2 separate regions of the Homo sapiens genome follow, and region 1 is linked to region 2. The links are contacts of gene promoters, found by promoter capture Hi-C in blood cells and fetal thymus (Javierre and others, 2016). All regions are on one chromosome and are shown on one strand. Each heading gives the region's core, a stretch centred on a gene start or on the middle of the fragment in contact. The rest is flanking DNA. Distances are from core to core; before and after follow the strand shown. Region 1 has its middle 48 kb from the start of ANKRD44-DT. Region 2 holds the start of ANKRD44 (ankyrin repeat domain 44).

The links. The method cuts DNA at HindIII sites, captures the fragments that hold promoters and counts their contacts. A CHiCAGO score of 5 or more calls a contact.
Region 1: a contact is called between a fragment that was not itself captured here and the fragment with the promoter of ANKRD44 in region 2, in 2 of 17 cell types (activated CD4 T cells and naive CD8 T cells). The highest score is 6.6, in activated CD4 T cells.

The regions. Positions count from the first base shown.
Region 1 is chr2:197,355,531-197,362,076 of GRCh38, forward strand. No RefSeq gene overlaps it. Among named protein-coding and RNA genes, the nearest start is that of ANKRD44-DT, 48 kb to the left of the region's middle. The HindIII fragment of the contact is 1,022 bases long and covers 3,179-4,200 here.
Region 2 is chr2:197,309,197-197,315,351 of GRCh38, forward strand. ANKRD44 (ankyrin repeat domain 44) reads right to left here and starts at 1,584. Exons shown (of 28, transcript NM_001195144.2): 1 at 1,382-1,584. The coding sequence starts at 1,408. It overlaps ANKRD44-DT (ANKRD44 divergent transcript), which reads left to right and starts at 1,870. Exons shown (of 4, transcript XR_923750.3): 1 at 1,870-3,502; 2 at 4,993-5,121; 3 at 5,273-5,288. RefSeq lists an enhancer at 435-936 and silencers at 1,060-1,439, 1,490-1,809, 1,820-1,899. The HindIII fragment of the contact is 14,364 bases long and covers 1-6,155 here.

The DNA.
Region 1 (6,546 bases), core at 2,440-4,939, 48 kb after region 2:
CCTCTGCCTGGTGAGCACAGTGAGACACTGTCTCAAAAAAAAAAAAAAAAAAAAAAGGCCGGGCACGGTGGCTCATGCCTGTAATCCCAGCACTTTGGGAGGCCAAGGCAGGTGGATCACCTGAGGTCAGGAGTTGGAGACCAGCCTGACCAACATGGTGAAACCCCGTCTCTCCTAAAAATACAAAAAAGTTAGCTGGACGTGGTGGTGGGTGCCGGGCACCTGTTGTCCCAGCTACTCGGGAGGCTGAGACAGGAGAATCACTTGAATCCGAGAGGCGGAGGTTTCATTGAGATGAGATCATACCACAGCACTCCAGTCTGGGTGATGGAGCGAGACTCCATCTCAAAACAAAACGAAAAAAAGTCTAAAATCAGCTGTCTCTTAAATTTAGCCTATTTCCCCAGAAAAAGTTTCTGTGGGCAACACCACAGCAGTACAAACCTGGAGTGTTTTTTTTTCAGTGAATATTCTTTCTGGATACATTAGTTTGTTTTCACACTGCTATAAAGAAATACCCAAGACTGGGTAATTTATGAAGGAAAGAGGTTTAATTGACTCACAGTTCCACGTGGCTCAGGAAACTTACAATCATGGCAGAAAGTGAAGGGGAAGCCGGCACATCTTGCATGGCAGCAGGCGAGAGAGAGCGAGAGCAGAGAAAGCTCCCTTTTAAAACCATCAGATCTCACGAGAACAGATCTCACTATCACAAGAACAGCATGGAGGAAACCACCCCCAAGATCCAATCACCCACCACTAGGTCTCTCCCTCAGTACCTGGGGATTAAATTCAAGTTGAGATTTGAGCAGGGAGGGCACAAAGACTAGCCATTTCCTTTTTTCCCTCTAGTGGTACAAGCAAGTAAGGATCAAATTCTAAGATGAAGACAGAATTCTGATGCGGCTCTTCTACAATGCCTTGCCTGAGTCAGAGATGTTCATTGCCCCCTCCCCAAGAAATAAATGAAAGTTTCTAGGGAACCCCAGATAAGAGATGAAGGGATTTGGTTTCTGTGCGGAAAGAAAAGTGTGAGGGTCTTGAGGATTCTGAGTATTGTAAGGAAGAATAATTTAAATATAAATGAGATTTGAATTTATCACACAAAATGGAGGGAATTTTCCTCCTTGAAACCAGATTTGTTCTGTATCTTAACTCAGAAATATATCAGCCCCAGAGCAAAGGGCATGGCAGCACAAGAAACAGAACTGGGTTTCGAGGCACATTTCCCCAGCCGACTCTTTGACCTTGAGTAAGTCTCTTCCTTTCTCTGGATGGCCAGATGACCTTTCAGCACTCTTCCCATTTCAACACTGTATGATTCCAATCAAAATTTTTATAAAAAGAAAACAGAAGGAAAATCCAGACTTTACTAATCCCAAATGCAGAGCTGAGGGACACCACCTCTAGAATAATCTAGATTTGAGTCTGAAGAGTGACAAGAATGAAAACAGGATTCCTAGTGGCAGTTTCAGAGAGCCTCCAGCCCAGCAACTGATGTTGAATATGGCAGAGATTATCACTAGGACCAGGAGTCCACAGGGGTCTCACTTGGGGTCCAGAGGGGATAGGATTTAATAAGAGCTAAAGGTCCTAGAACTTTTTTACTTTTTTTTTTTTTTTTTTTTTTTTTTTTTTTTTTTTTGACACAGAGTCTCACTCTGTTGCCCAGGCTGGAGTGCAATGGAGTGATCTCGGCTCACTGCAATCTCTGCCTCCTGGGTTCAAGCGATTCTCCTGCCTCAGCATCCCAAGTAGCTGGGATTACAGGTGCACGCCACCACACCCAGCTAATTTTGTATTTTTAGTAGAGACAGGGTTTCACCATGTTGGCCAGGCTGGTCTCGAACCCCTGACCTCAGGCGATCTACCTGCCTCAGCCTCCCAAAATGCTGGGATTACAGGAGTGAGCCCCTGCACCCAGCCGGTCCTAGAACTTGAAGGTGAAAGTCGAATTACTCAGTCAAACTGTAACAGAGACTCAGAATTAGAAGACTTCCCCAAGGACTGGAAGTGATGAAGGTAAGTGCTTCAATCAACATAGTTAGTGGGACTGAGCATGGTGGCTCACGCCTGTAATCCCAACACTTTGGGAGGCCGAGACAGGAGGATCACTTGAGCTCAGGAGTTCAAGACCAGCCTGGGTAATATAGTGAGACTCCATCTCTACAAAATATATATTTTTTAATTAGCCAGCCATGGTGGCACATGCCTGTAGTCCCAGCTACTTGAAAGGCTGAGGTGGGAGGATCGCTTTCGCCTAGGATGTCGAGGCTGCCGTGAGCTGTGATCAAGCTACCGCCCTCCAACCTGGGAAACAGAGCAAGACTCTGTCTCAAAAACAAACAAACAAACATCATCAATGGGCATTACTGTGCTATTCATAACGCTGCCTTATTCACCAGTTTCTTCATTGTCTTGGGTCAGGTTTCTCAGAAGCTGATAGATGAGAACATGTGTGCAAGTGATTTGTTAAGAAAGGGCTCCCAGGAGAAAGCAGTAAGAGAGTTGGGGAAGCAGAATAGGGAAAGGGAGGAAGCCAGAAGGCAGGCTGAAGTCCTAGCCTCAGCCTGATCCAGGAGGGTCAGTTACACCACACAATTTGTCCTGCCTCAAGGCAGAAGAGCTCGGCTTTCCTGCTCCTTCACTCCTCAGCTATCACCTTGGGCTGCCCTGAAGGCATGAAAACTCCTGAGTAGTTTTCACTCTTGAGAACATCCAGGGTAAGCTGCTTCTGTAGCCCAAGGGCAGTTCTCTGAAGAAGGTTATAGGTTTCAGCTATTAGGATAGGAGGTAAGCCCATGGAAGCTGCAGATGAGAACACAGAACTGCTCAGTATTTCCACAGGGACAAGGTGAGACACCAATACCAACAGTGTCCATAAATATTTGACTTTTCTCCCTACATGAATTATCAACTTGTTATGGGACGAAGCATGGGTTTCAGATTCAGACAGACCTGGAATTGGGTTCCAGCTCCACCGATTACAAGGCCTGCGACTTTAAACAAAATGATTAACTACACTGAGTCTCAGTTTTTGCATCTGCAAAATTCAGTTGATTCACCTCAAATAAACAAAGTGCATTTAACTCCATTCTAAAACACACTCTTTTCAAATTTAAAAATCTTCCAAATCAGGATACATCTCGTAATCATTGTTGGCCAGGCAGTAATCACAAGCTTGTCTCTGCCTGTGCTCAAAAGAACTTGGTTGCAGCTGCTGACAATATTGTCACAATTGAGTTATATGCACTGTTGATAATATAGGTGTTTCAATCCCTGTTTTAAATGTCTTCAAAATGATTACACTAGCATTCAATGTCAATAGGAAAAGTTTCCATAGAGATAGCACAGCAGAGAATGAAAACAACAGTCGAATGTGGATTTGGTGTGAGAGACATAAAAATTCTTAGAAGGAATGACCACATTTACCTACGTTTAGCAAAGCAATAAAATCAAACACAGCCTTTCTAGAACCTAAGAAAGGAAGATACCCACAAGAAGATGAATCTGTGTTGCATTTTGCTACTGAGAAGTGTGCACAAGGATTGCCCATCCTGGCAACTGAAGGCAGAGGAAATTGCTGAGCCCTTCAGAATAGATGAAAGGAATTTCAAAGCAACAAGATGCTGGTGTGAGTGATTCATATAAGACACATCACTATCATTGTGTCGTGGTTTCAGTAGTAGTATTTTCATTCCTGGTCCATAAAATAATGGTGCATCTGGCAGTCAATTATGTCTTAGATCAAATGAAATTCCCCCAAATTGCAAATGCCCCAAGATTTAGCTATACCCTGGAGCTGACAGTACTGAGCTGGATGTGAGAAAGTGAGGCCCCCCAGGAATGATGAGGCAACATAGAAAGGCCAGGCTTCTCTTGTGGGATTCTGGGTGGCACCAAAAAGTGAACATGGGATCAACTTATAACTGGTATGGCAGGAAACCTTTAACATATGAAATACAGTAGCTAGAGATGAAAAATAACAAAGCTGTCACTTGGAGAAGTGATCTCTCCTCTGCCCTAGGCTCACTAGAGACCTTCTCTACTCGGGGGGTGTGCTAGTCCATTTTGCATTGCTATGAAGAAATACCTGAGGCAGAGTAATTCATAAAGAAAAGATGTTTATTTGGCTCATGTTTCTGCAGGCTGTACAAGCATGGCACCAACATCTGCTCAGCTTCTTGTGAGGCCTCAGGAAGCTTCTACTCATGGTGGAAGGCAAAGGGAGAGTGAGTCCCATGTCAAGAGAGGGAACAAGAGAGGGAGGAGGGAGGTCCCAGACTCTTTTTAATAATCAGATCCTGCATGAACTCATTACAGGGCACTAAGCCATTCATGAGAGATCAGTACCCATGACCCAAACACCTCCCAGCAGGCCCCACTTCCAATATTGGGGATCACGTTTCAACATAATTGGAGGGGAGGAACATCTAAACCATACCATGGGGGATATGCAGAAACTTAATGACCCTCACATTAGGGAAACAGCAGGCCCCAGAAGGGCCCCTAGGGGCCCCTGCTGGGCCAGGTGTGGCCCTCTAGTGGCTGTGAGAGGCTGTCCAGGGATCCCAGAGGAGGGCAGCAGAAGAGAGGCTAAGGGCAGCAGCCAGGCACCAGTTAGTGTGGAAATATTCTAATATTTAGAAAATCACTGTGGTCACATTGGTGTTTACTGGTCAAATATCAGCCCTGCTGTCCTGTATACTGTGAAAGTGAAAAGCCAAATTGTGGAAGTCTGGGCACAGTGGCTCACATCTGTAATCCCGGCACTTTGGGAGGCGGAGGCAGGTGGATCACTTCAGGTCAGGAGTTCGAGACCAGCCTGGACAACATAGTGAAACCCTGTCTCTACAAAAAAAATACAAAAATTGGCCAGGTGTGGTGGCAGGCACCAGCTATCCCAGCTACTCGGGAGGATAAAGCAAGAAAATCCCTTGAGCCCAGGAGGCAGAGGTTGCAGTGAGCTGAGATTGCATCACTGCACCCCAGCCTGGGTGACAGAGTGAGACCCTGCCTCCAAAAAAAAAAAGCCAGGCTGTGGAGTCAGACACAGGCCTGAATCCCTACCGGATGACCTTAACTCAGTCATTTAACTTCTTATAGTCTCATTTGTTTTTTTCATTTTTGTAATGGGGAAAATATTTGATTCTACAGGTTTCTTAGAATTAAATGAGGTAAGATAGGTATAATACTTCAGCATGGGGCCCAGCACATAGAAAGTACTCCACAAACCAAAGCTGCTAGCACTTCTCATGCACAAGGAGCCAGGTAATTTGTCCAGTCATTAGTGGATGACTCACTTTGGACTGTCTATGTTGAAGATGTGGGGTTAGGGTTTGACTGTTGATAGCCATTAAAAGACAACCACAATGAGAACATCTGGTTTCCATTGAAATTCTAGTCTGTCTCTGTGTTATTTGAGTCAGCTTAGGATTTCTTCCCCCTACCTCCAAAACAACTGAAAGCTTTGTACTACATTTACCATTGCTAAGTGGGTTGAAATTGTTCTTTATTAAAAAACAGGCCCCAGGGCAGTATGAGAGACAGCTATCTATTTTGGCAAGTTGTCTCTCCATTAAGTACCTATTACACAGTCAACTCACCATGGTAAAGCAGTTGAGACATTTCTCACTGACCTTTCTAGCCCCAATTATTTAATGCTTAGCAAATCCTGTATGGATAATATCATCAAAATTTGCAGTTAATGGGTGAATTTAGCACTGTCTGTGCCTTTAAAATATGCTTTCTCATCCTAATTAATGCTTATTTTGTACTTTTTTCACATTATACATACTATTACAGTTAATACGCTTGTAGTTACATCTTTGTGCCTTTGTCTAATTATTTTCTTAGAAATTCTTAGAAACAGAGTGCCTAGAAAAAGTGGCATACAGATATTTTTAATGAACATATATTGCCCTCCAGAAAGTTTTTACCAATTTATAATTTTAGCAATAGTGTATGAAGGTATATTTCCCCATACCCTCAACATTTAAATCTTTACTAATCTGGTAGGCAAAAATGTGAACTTACTGCTTATTGCTTCAATTTGCATTTCTTCAGTTACTTATTAAGCATCTTCATGTTTGCTTATAAAATGGATTTCTTACTCTGAAATTTCTCTTTGAAACTTTTGCTGATTTTTCCAGACTGCTGATATTTTTACTCAGTTATAAGCATTCTTTAAAATGTACATAATAAATTTAAATACAGGCCAGGCATAGTGGCTCATACCTATAATCCCAGTGCCTTGGGAGGCCAACTCAGGAGGATCACTTGAGCCCAGGAGTTCAAGGCTGCAATGAGCTATGCTCCTGCCACTGCACTCCATCCTGGGCAACAGAACTGTCTCTAAAAATAAAATAAAATAATATAAATATAAACACAAATGAAGAACTCATAGAATCATGACTTTGTCAAAATCTAATTACTTCCCAAAGGCCCTGCTATGGTCTGATTGTGTCCCGCCAAAATTCAAATGTTGAAATTTAATTGCAATGTGATAGTGTTAAGAGGTGGAGGTGATTACATCATGAAGGTAGA
Region 2 (6,155 bases), core at 334-2,833:
TACGCAAATGTCTAACAGTTGGCAAAGTATGTGACCAAAAGGTGAAGGAAATCCTGATATCAACTTACACTTTTAAATGCTCTGGAACCAATGAGAACAAATACATTCATCACAAGTACCAGCTGCTCTTCTTACTAAATTTAACAATAACATGAATTTTAACTCAGTGATTTCCCCATCACCAACCCCGCCAAACACCTGTAAATATTTAGGAAAAACAAGCTAAAAAAATTGAATCTAAAAGGCAGGAGAACAAATCATTGCAAATCATTGTGGTGACGGACTGCACTTCAGTTGCAAGATGTTCTGGCTGGATACTAACTGGAGAACGCAAGGCAGCAGATGCAACCCATGGACAAGTTTGAGGTATTTAATACCAAGGGCTGGCAAGTCTGACCCTGTAGTCAAAGTCAAGATTGCCTCTCTGCCTACCAGGACCCCAAAACAAAGTTCCTTTCACTACCCACGAATAAACGGGGGTGGGGGTAGCAAGCCGTTTCCTTTTTTCGTGGAAAGAGCTGCAAAGAGTTTTGTCATGCAACTTGGTTTGGTGCCTGTTAGTGTCAATGTAAGAGCAGCAGAGTCCGCGAAGGTGGCTGTTACCATTCCACAGACCTGCGGCGAGGACTGTCAATCCGATTCAGCAAATAACCCCACCTCTCCAAGCCAGGACTCCAGAGCTGCCCTGTGTGGTGTCTCAGCAAGGAAAGCCAACAAAGCTGGTAGACACAGGCAGACCGTAGCCCACCGCCTGTGAGTGGAGGCTCCGAGCCGACTTCACCTCCTCCTCAGAGGGACCGGCCCGATCCGAAAGGGCGGTCTCCAGGGGTCCCCATCCCGCACCACGCACACAGCCTGGCGCAACTAAAGAGGAAGTCGGATGTCACATCCAACGGATAAATAAAGACAGCCCGGCCACACAAGAGCCGCATTCTGGGCAGGACTCCTGCTAGGTTTGGGGAGGGGTCCCAGTCTGCGATCCTTTCTCCCTCTTCGTGCAGCGTCCTCCTCCCCGGGGCCCGGGCCGGCGGCGCCCACGCAACGCGGCGCGGTGCGAGTCCCGAGAGCACCTCGAGCCCCCGGCCCCCTCCCCAGCCCCGCCGGGCCCGCGGCCGCCGCACTCCCGCACGCCGGCTGCCCAGCGCCCACGGGCCCTGCCCCAGACTCGGGCGCGCAGTTCCGACGGCCCAGGGCGGGGACGGCGCGGCGGAGGGGAGCTGCCGCCGCGGGCTCTCGGAGGCACCGGCGGCCGCACACAGTCCTCCCCTTCGCCGCGAGTAAACAGCTCGCGGGCGCGCTCCAGCCGCGCCCCCATCCCCCCGCCGGGCTCCGCGCCGCCCCGCGCCCGCGCGTCCCGCCCGCCGGCGCCGCCGCCCGCTACCTGGTCGGTGAGTTTGAGCACTGCCATTCTTCCGCTCCTTCGCGCGCACACACATGCAGGTCCCCGGCCCGCAGATGTCACGCCGGGAGCCGGGGAAGCGGAAGGGATTGCCAGGAGAAGGGAAAAAATCTGGCTCCCGAATTTGACAGCCCTCCCCCTGCTCCTCCTCCGCCGCCGCCTCCTCCCGCCGAGAGGCTGACACTGGCTAGTGGGGTTTGCAGCCGAGCCCGCCCGCCTTTCCACAGGAAGTACCGGCTGCTGCCAGCCGGGCCGCCACTGACATCACCGCGCGCTGGCTCGCTCGCCGCCCGCCGCCTGGGCCGACGCTGCCTCCTGCCGCCCGCAGCCGAGCCGCGCAGCCCGGCCCCCGGCGCTGCCCCCGCGCCCGCACCGGGCCGCCGCCTGCCTTCCGCACCTGCACGCGGCGCCCGGCCGGGCCGGCCCCGGGCCCTGGGCGGATCGCGGGCCTCCCTGACGGGTCTCACACATATGGGTGGGGAAGCCCGCGGGGACACACCCCGAGGGGGCAGGAAAGGCTCTCACTCACATGCCGTCCACTTTAACCGGGGAGATGGGGTTACGCCCCCTTCCCCTAACCCAGAATCAGGTGGTGGCAGCGCCCCGAAGATCCCAGGGACCGCAATTATGATGCTCCCTTTGTTTAATGCCAGGAGGCAGCGGACACATTGTGATTCTTTACAGGGTGTTTGCCAAACATTTATGGGTGGAGGGAACAGAAGCTCTGGCCCTTCCACCTTGTTCTCCAGCCACTTTCCAGCTAAACACACACACACATATGCACACACACATACTATTGTTAAATTCAAACACCCTGGGTTTGGTTTTTGCTGGTGGGGGTGGAGTGGAGTTCCTGGAGAAGCAAAGCAGTCCTAAATCACCGAGTTGATGGGTCTTTTGGGTGTTCCCACCAGTCCTTACTGATCTCTACAAAATCCCAAGTTACCAAGCTCTTCAACAAATAGAAGACAGCTGTCAAACACCATGGGCTACAGATACAACGGGCATATTCGTAAGCATAGTAGCTGTTGATAGTTCTGGAATTTGGAGCAAACACTTATTCATTGAACAGCTATGTACTGAGTCCCTACCTTGTCAGGCACTGGCTAGGCACGGGAATAAACGGAGAGCATAAATAAGATAACCTGCTCTCAGAAGATGCCAACATAAACCGCATAGTCTCTGCTAATGAATGTAATTACAAACTGAGATAAGGGATCTCAAGGGAAAACATGCTTCTGAAGTGAACCCACAACAAAGGAATCAGACCAGACTGGTGGGTGAGGGCAGGCTTCCCTGAGAAAGTGACAGGAGTTGAGATCTGGAGAAGGGAGAATTAAGTAAGCAAGTGGAGAGGAAGTGCTCCCAGGCAGCCCCATGTGCCCCTGGCAGGCCATAGAGCAAACCTGTAGGGCAGCATTGAACAGCTTTGAAGAGCAAACTAGAGCTACAGAATTCTTTGGTCAAGACCAAACATCTGCCTCTACTGTATATTCACAAACCAAATGTCCATTCTTCCTCCCTACTCTTAGAACCTCCCCCAAAGATTCCACATGAGACAGGAGAGAAAGGAGCATTAATATCCTCACATTTACCATCCAGCCACTCTGGTTGTCGAAGCAGCTAAATCTCAAATTTACCTTTATTAGTCTTATAGATTATAATTCAGATCATGCAGACAAGAAGAACCAAGGAACTTTGTTCCTGGCTTCCACTCCTCTGTTATCAATGTTGCATGGAAACAAACAAACAAAAAATTCTAAGGCCTTTCTCAGACATACAACAGATTGTTTATGTTGCATCTATGAGTCAGTTCTTCACTGCTGTTATTGGTATGTCTATTTACTGAACACCCTGCATGGCTTTGTAAGTAAACTGAATAGGACCCTGCATTCTCTACTTAAATAGAGCCATCTTTCAGAAGAGTGATAACAAATGACTTAATTTGGAAGATTCACTCAAGATCCAATTTGATTCATCGCGGACATGCCTGCACCTAAGTTCCTGGGGCCAAAGTGAGGAGGCAGCAGTTCTCCACCCAATCAGACCATCATCCTCTTTTTGTAACTAGTATCTTTAACACTCCCCTTACTATCCTGAAAGGTAATTTGTGGATAATATTACCTACCAATACAAATTTCAAAAAAAAAAAAACCAGCAACAATATATTGTCCTAATTGTACAATAAAGGAAAAATTAAAGGAGAGTAATTTATAATGAATATGTATTTCAGTAGGTAAGTGGTAAAACACAACTCTCTTTGTCTTCTGACAAAACAAAGCAGTAAGATGCTTCCACCTATATGGAGAGGCTTTGTGAATGAGAGAATTACAAATGCAGACAGATGTGAACATATAGTGTTAGGAATTCAAATATCAAGATTGGTGTTGTCATAGGTGACCTGACTTTGTGAAAGGTTGAACAACTCGTGGCCAAGTTCCAAATAAAATAGGGAGCAGAAGATTTGGCAAAATTTATTGATAAGACTACACTTATCAGAAGGTCTGCTTTTAATGTGTTAGCCAGTACTTTGACAGTGATTCAAACACTTTGTTTACTTCATTAAATGAGACTCAGACTCAGCAGTTGACTATATTCGGTGAGCTTGAGAAGCCAGAATGCCCCTGGTATAATGTAGAGAAAGAAATCCAAAGATTTGTGGAGATGGGAATGTTGGAATAATTTTATCATGTATAATCTGTACAGCCAACCCCTACATATTCCTGGAGAGCCAGATGATGATCTTTATACTGAAGCATTGAAAAATACAGGCCAGGCACCATGGCTTATGCCTATAATCCCAGCACTTTGGGAGGCTGAAGCAGGTGGATCACCTGAGGTCAGGAGTTCCAGACCAGCCTGGCTAACATGGTGAAACCCCGTCTCTACTAAAAATACAAAAAATTAGCCAGGCGTGGTGGCATGCACCTGTAGTTCCAGCTACTTGGGAGGCTGAGTCACGAGAGTCGCTTGAACCCAGGAGGCAGAGGTTGCACTGAGCCAATGACGCGCCATTGCACTCCAGCCTGGGCAACAAAGCAAGACTCTGTCAAAAAGAAAAAAAAAGAAAAGGAAAGAAAAATACATTCGAGAGAGAACGTCAGAAAAACTCTCTAGTAGCTGGATATGATGGTGGGAGATGCTTTCGTTGAGATGGCTCCTTGATTTTTATATTAGTGGGATCCTGCGACAGCAATGGCCAAGTGGCAGCACTTAGCTGGCAGAGACAAGGTGGACACATTTACTGTAATGGACAGCAGAGACAAAGTAGTACTTAAAGGTCTTAACCTACAGGTATATCTGGCAGTGCCCTAGGTTGTCCTAGGAATGAAATAGACGGGCAGACTTTGGAAATAGCCATTGATCTTTATAACAGACAAAACTCTACATCTGCCACCTGAAAGCTCCCTTGAGCCATCAAAATGAAATTATCTTTCATTCAGTTTCCGTACCTAAATGAGTTCACAGACACAGAGCTCCTTGATTAAAAGGGAAGCTGGTCCCCTTCAGGAGGGTCTTGCAGCATTGTCATAAATATATACTACAAATCCTCATCCAAGCCTTATCCAAAGGAACCTGATGTATTTTTCTAGGCTGAGCGAGTACTGGGAAAAAGGAAATACCCAGACATTTGAGGGATCACTGACACTGCTTCTGAATTAATGCTAATTCCTGAGGATTGCAAACACCACTGGATCCACCAATCAAAATGGGGATCTATGGTAGGTGATAAATGAAATTTTTAACTAAGTATAAATCAGTGTGGATCCAGTAGCTCTGCAGACCCAAACTATAGTTATCTCCTCAACTGTTAGTTAGAATAGACATACTCAGTAACTAACAGAATCCTAACATCATTTCTCTGACCCACAGAGTGAAGTTTATTATGGTAAGACAGGCCAAATGGAAGCCTCTGGAATTTCCTCTTGATACCAGAATAGAAAACCAACAACAATGCTCAATCCCTGGAAATATGTAGAAATTGGTACCACCAGAAAAGACGTAGAAGATACAGGAATGATAATACTGTCACATCTCCATTTAACTCACCTGTTGGGCCTATGCAAAAGATCTTAGAGAATAACTATGATTTGTTATTAAGTTGTAAACTTAATCAAATGGTAATGTCAGTTGCAGCTGCTATTCTATATATGCTGTCTTTACCGCAACAAAGCAACTCAGCCCTAGGCACCTGGTGTGCACTATTGATATGGCAAATGCTTTTTATCTATTTCAATTTTCACCAAAAGTTGTTTTCTTTTATATGGCAAGATCAACAGTACACCTTTACAGTCTTCTCTAGGGGATGTAAACACTCCCACTCTCTGGCATAATCTCATCTGCACAGGTCTTGATCACTATGTTAAAGACATCGAGCTGACTGGCCCTGATAAACAGGAAGTAACAAATATTTTAGCTGCCTTAACAACACACATGTGAGCCAGAGATTGGGTATAAACCCCAAGAAAATTCATCACCTTAGTGAAGTTTCTGGAGGTCCAGTGGTCTAGAAAACACCAGGATATTCTCCCCAACGTAAAAGACAAATTACTTCACCTTGTACCATCTACCACTAAGAAAAGAGACACAATACTTTCTGGGTATCCTTGGATTTTAGAGGCAATATGTATCACATCTGAGTGTGATGCTGTGACCCATTTATAGAGCAACCCATAAGGCTGGAATTTTTTATTAGGAATAAGGGGAGAAGAAATATCTGTAGCAGGACTTGATGACCCAGAGGAATCCAATGATA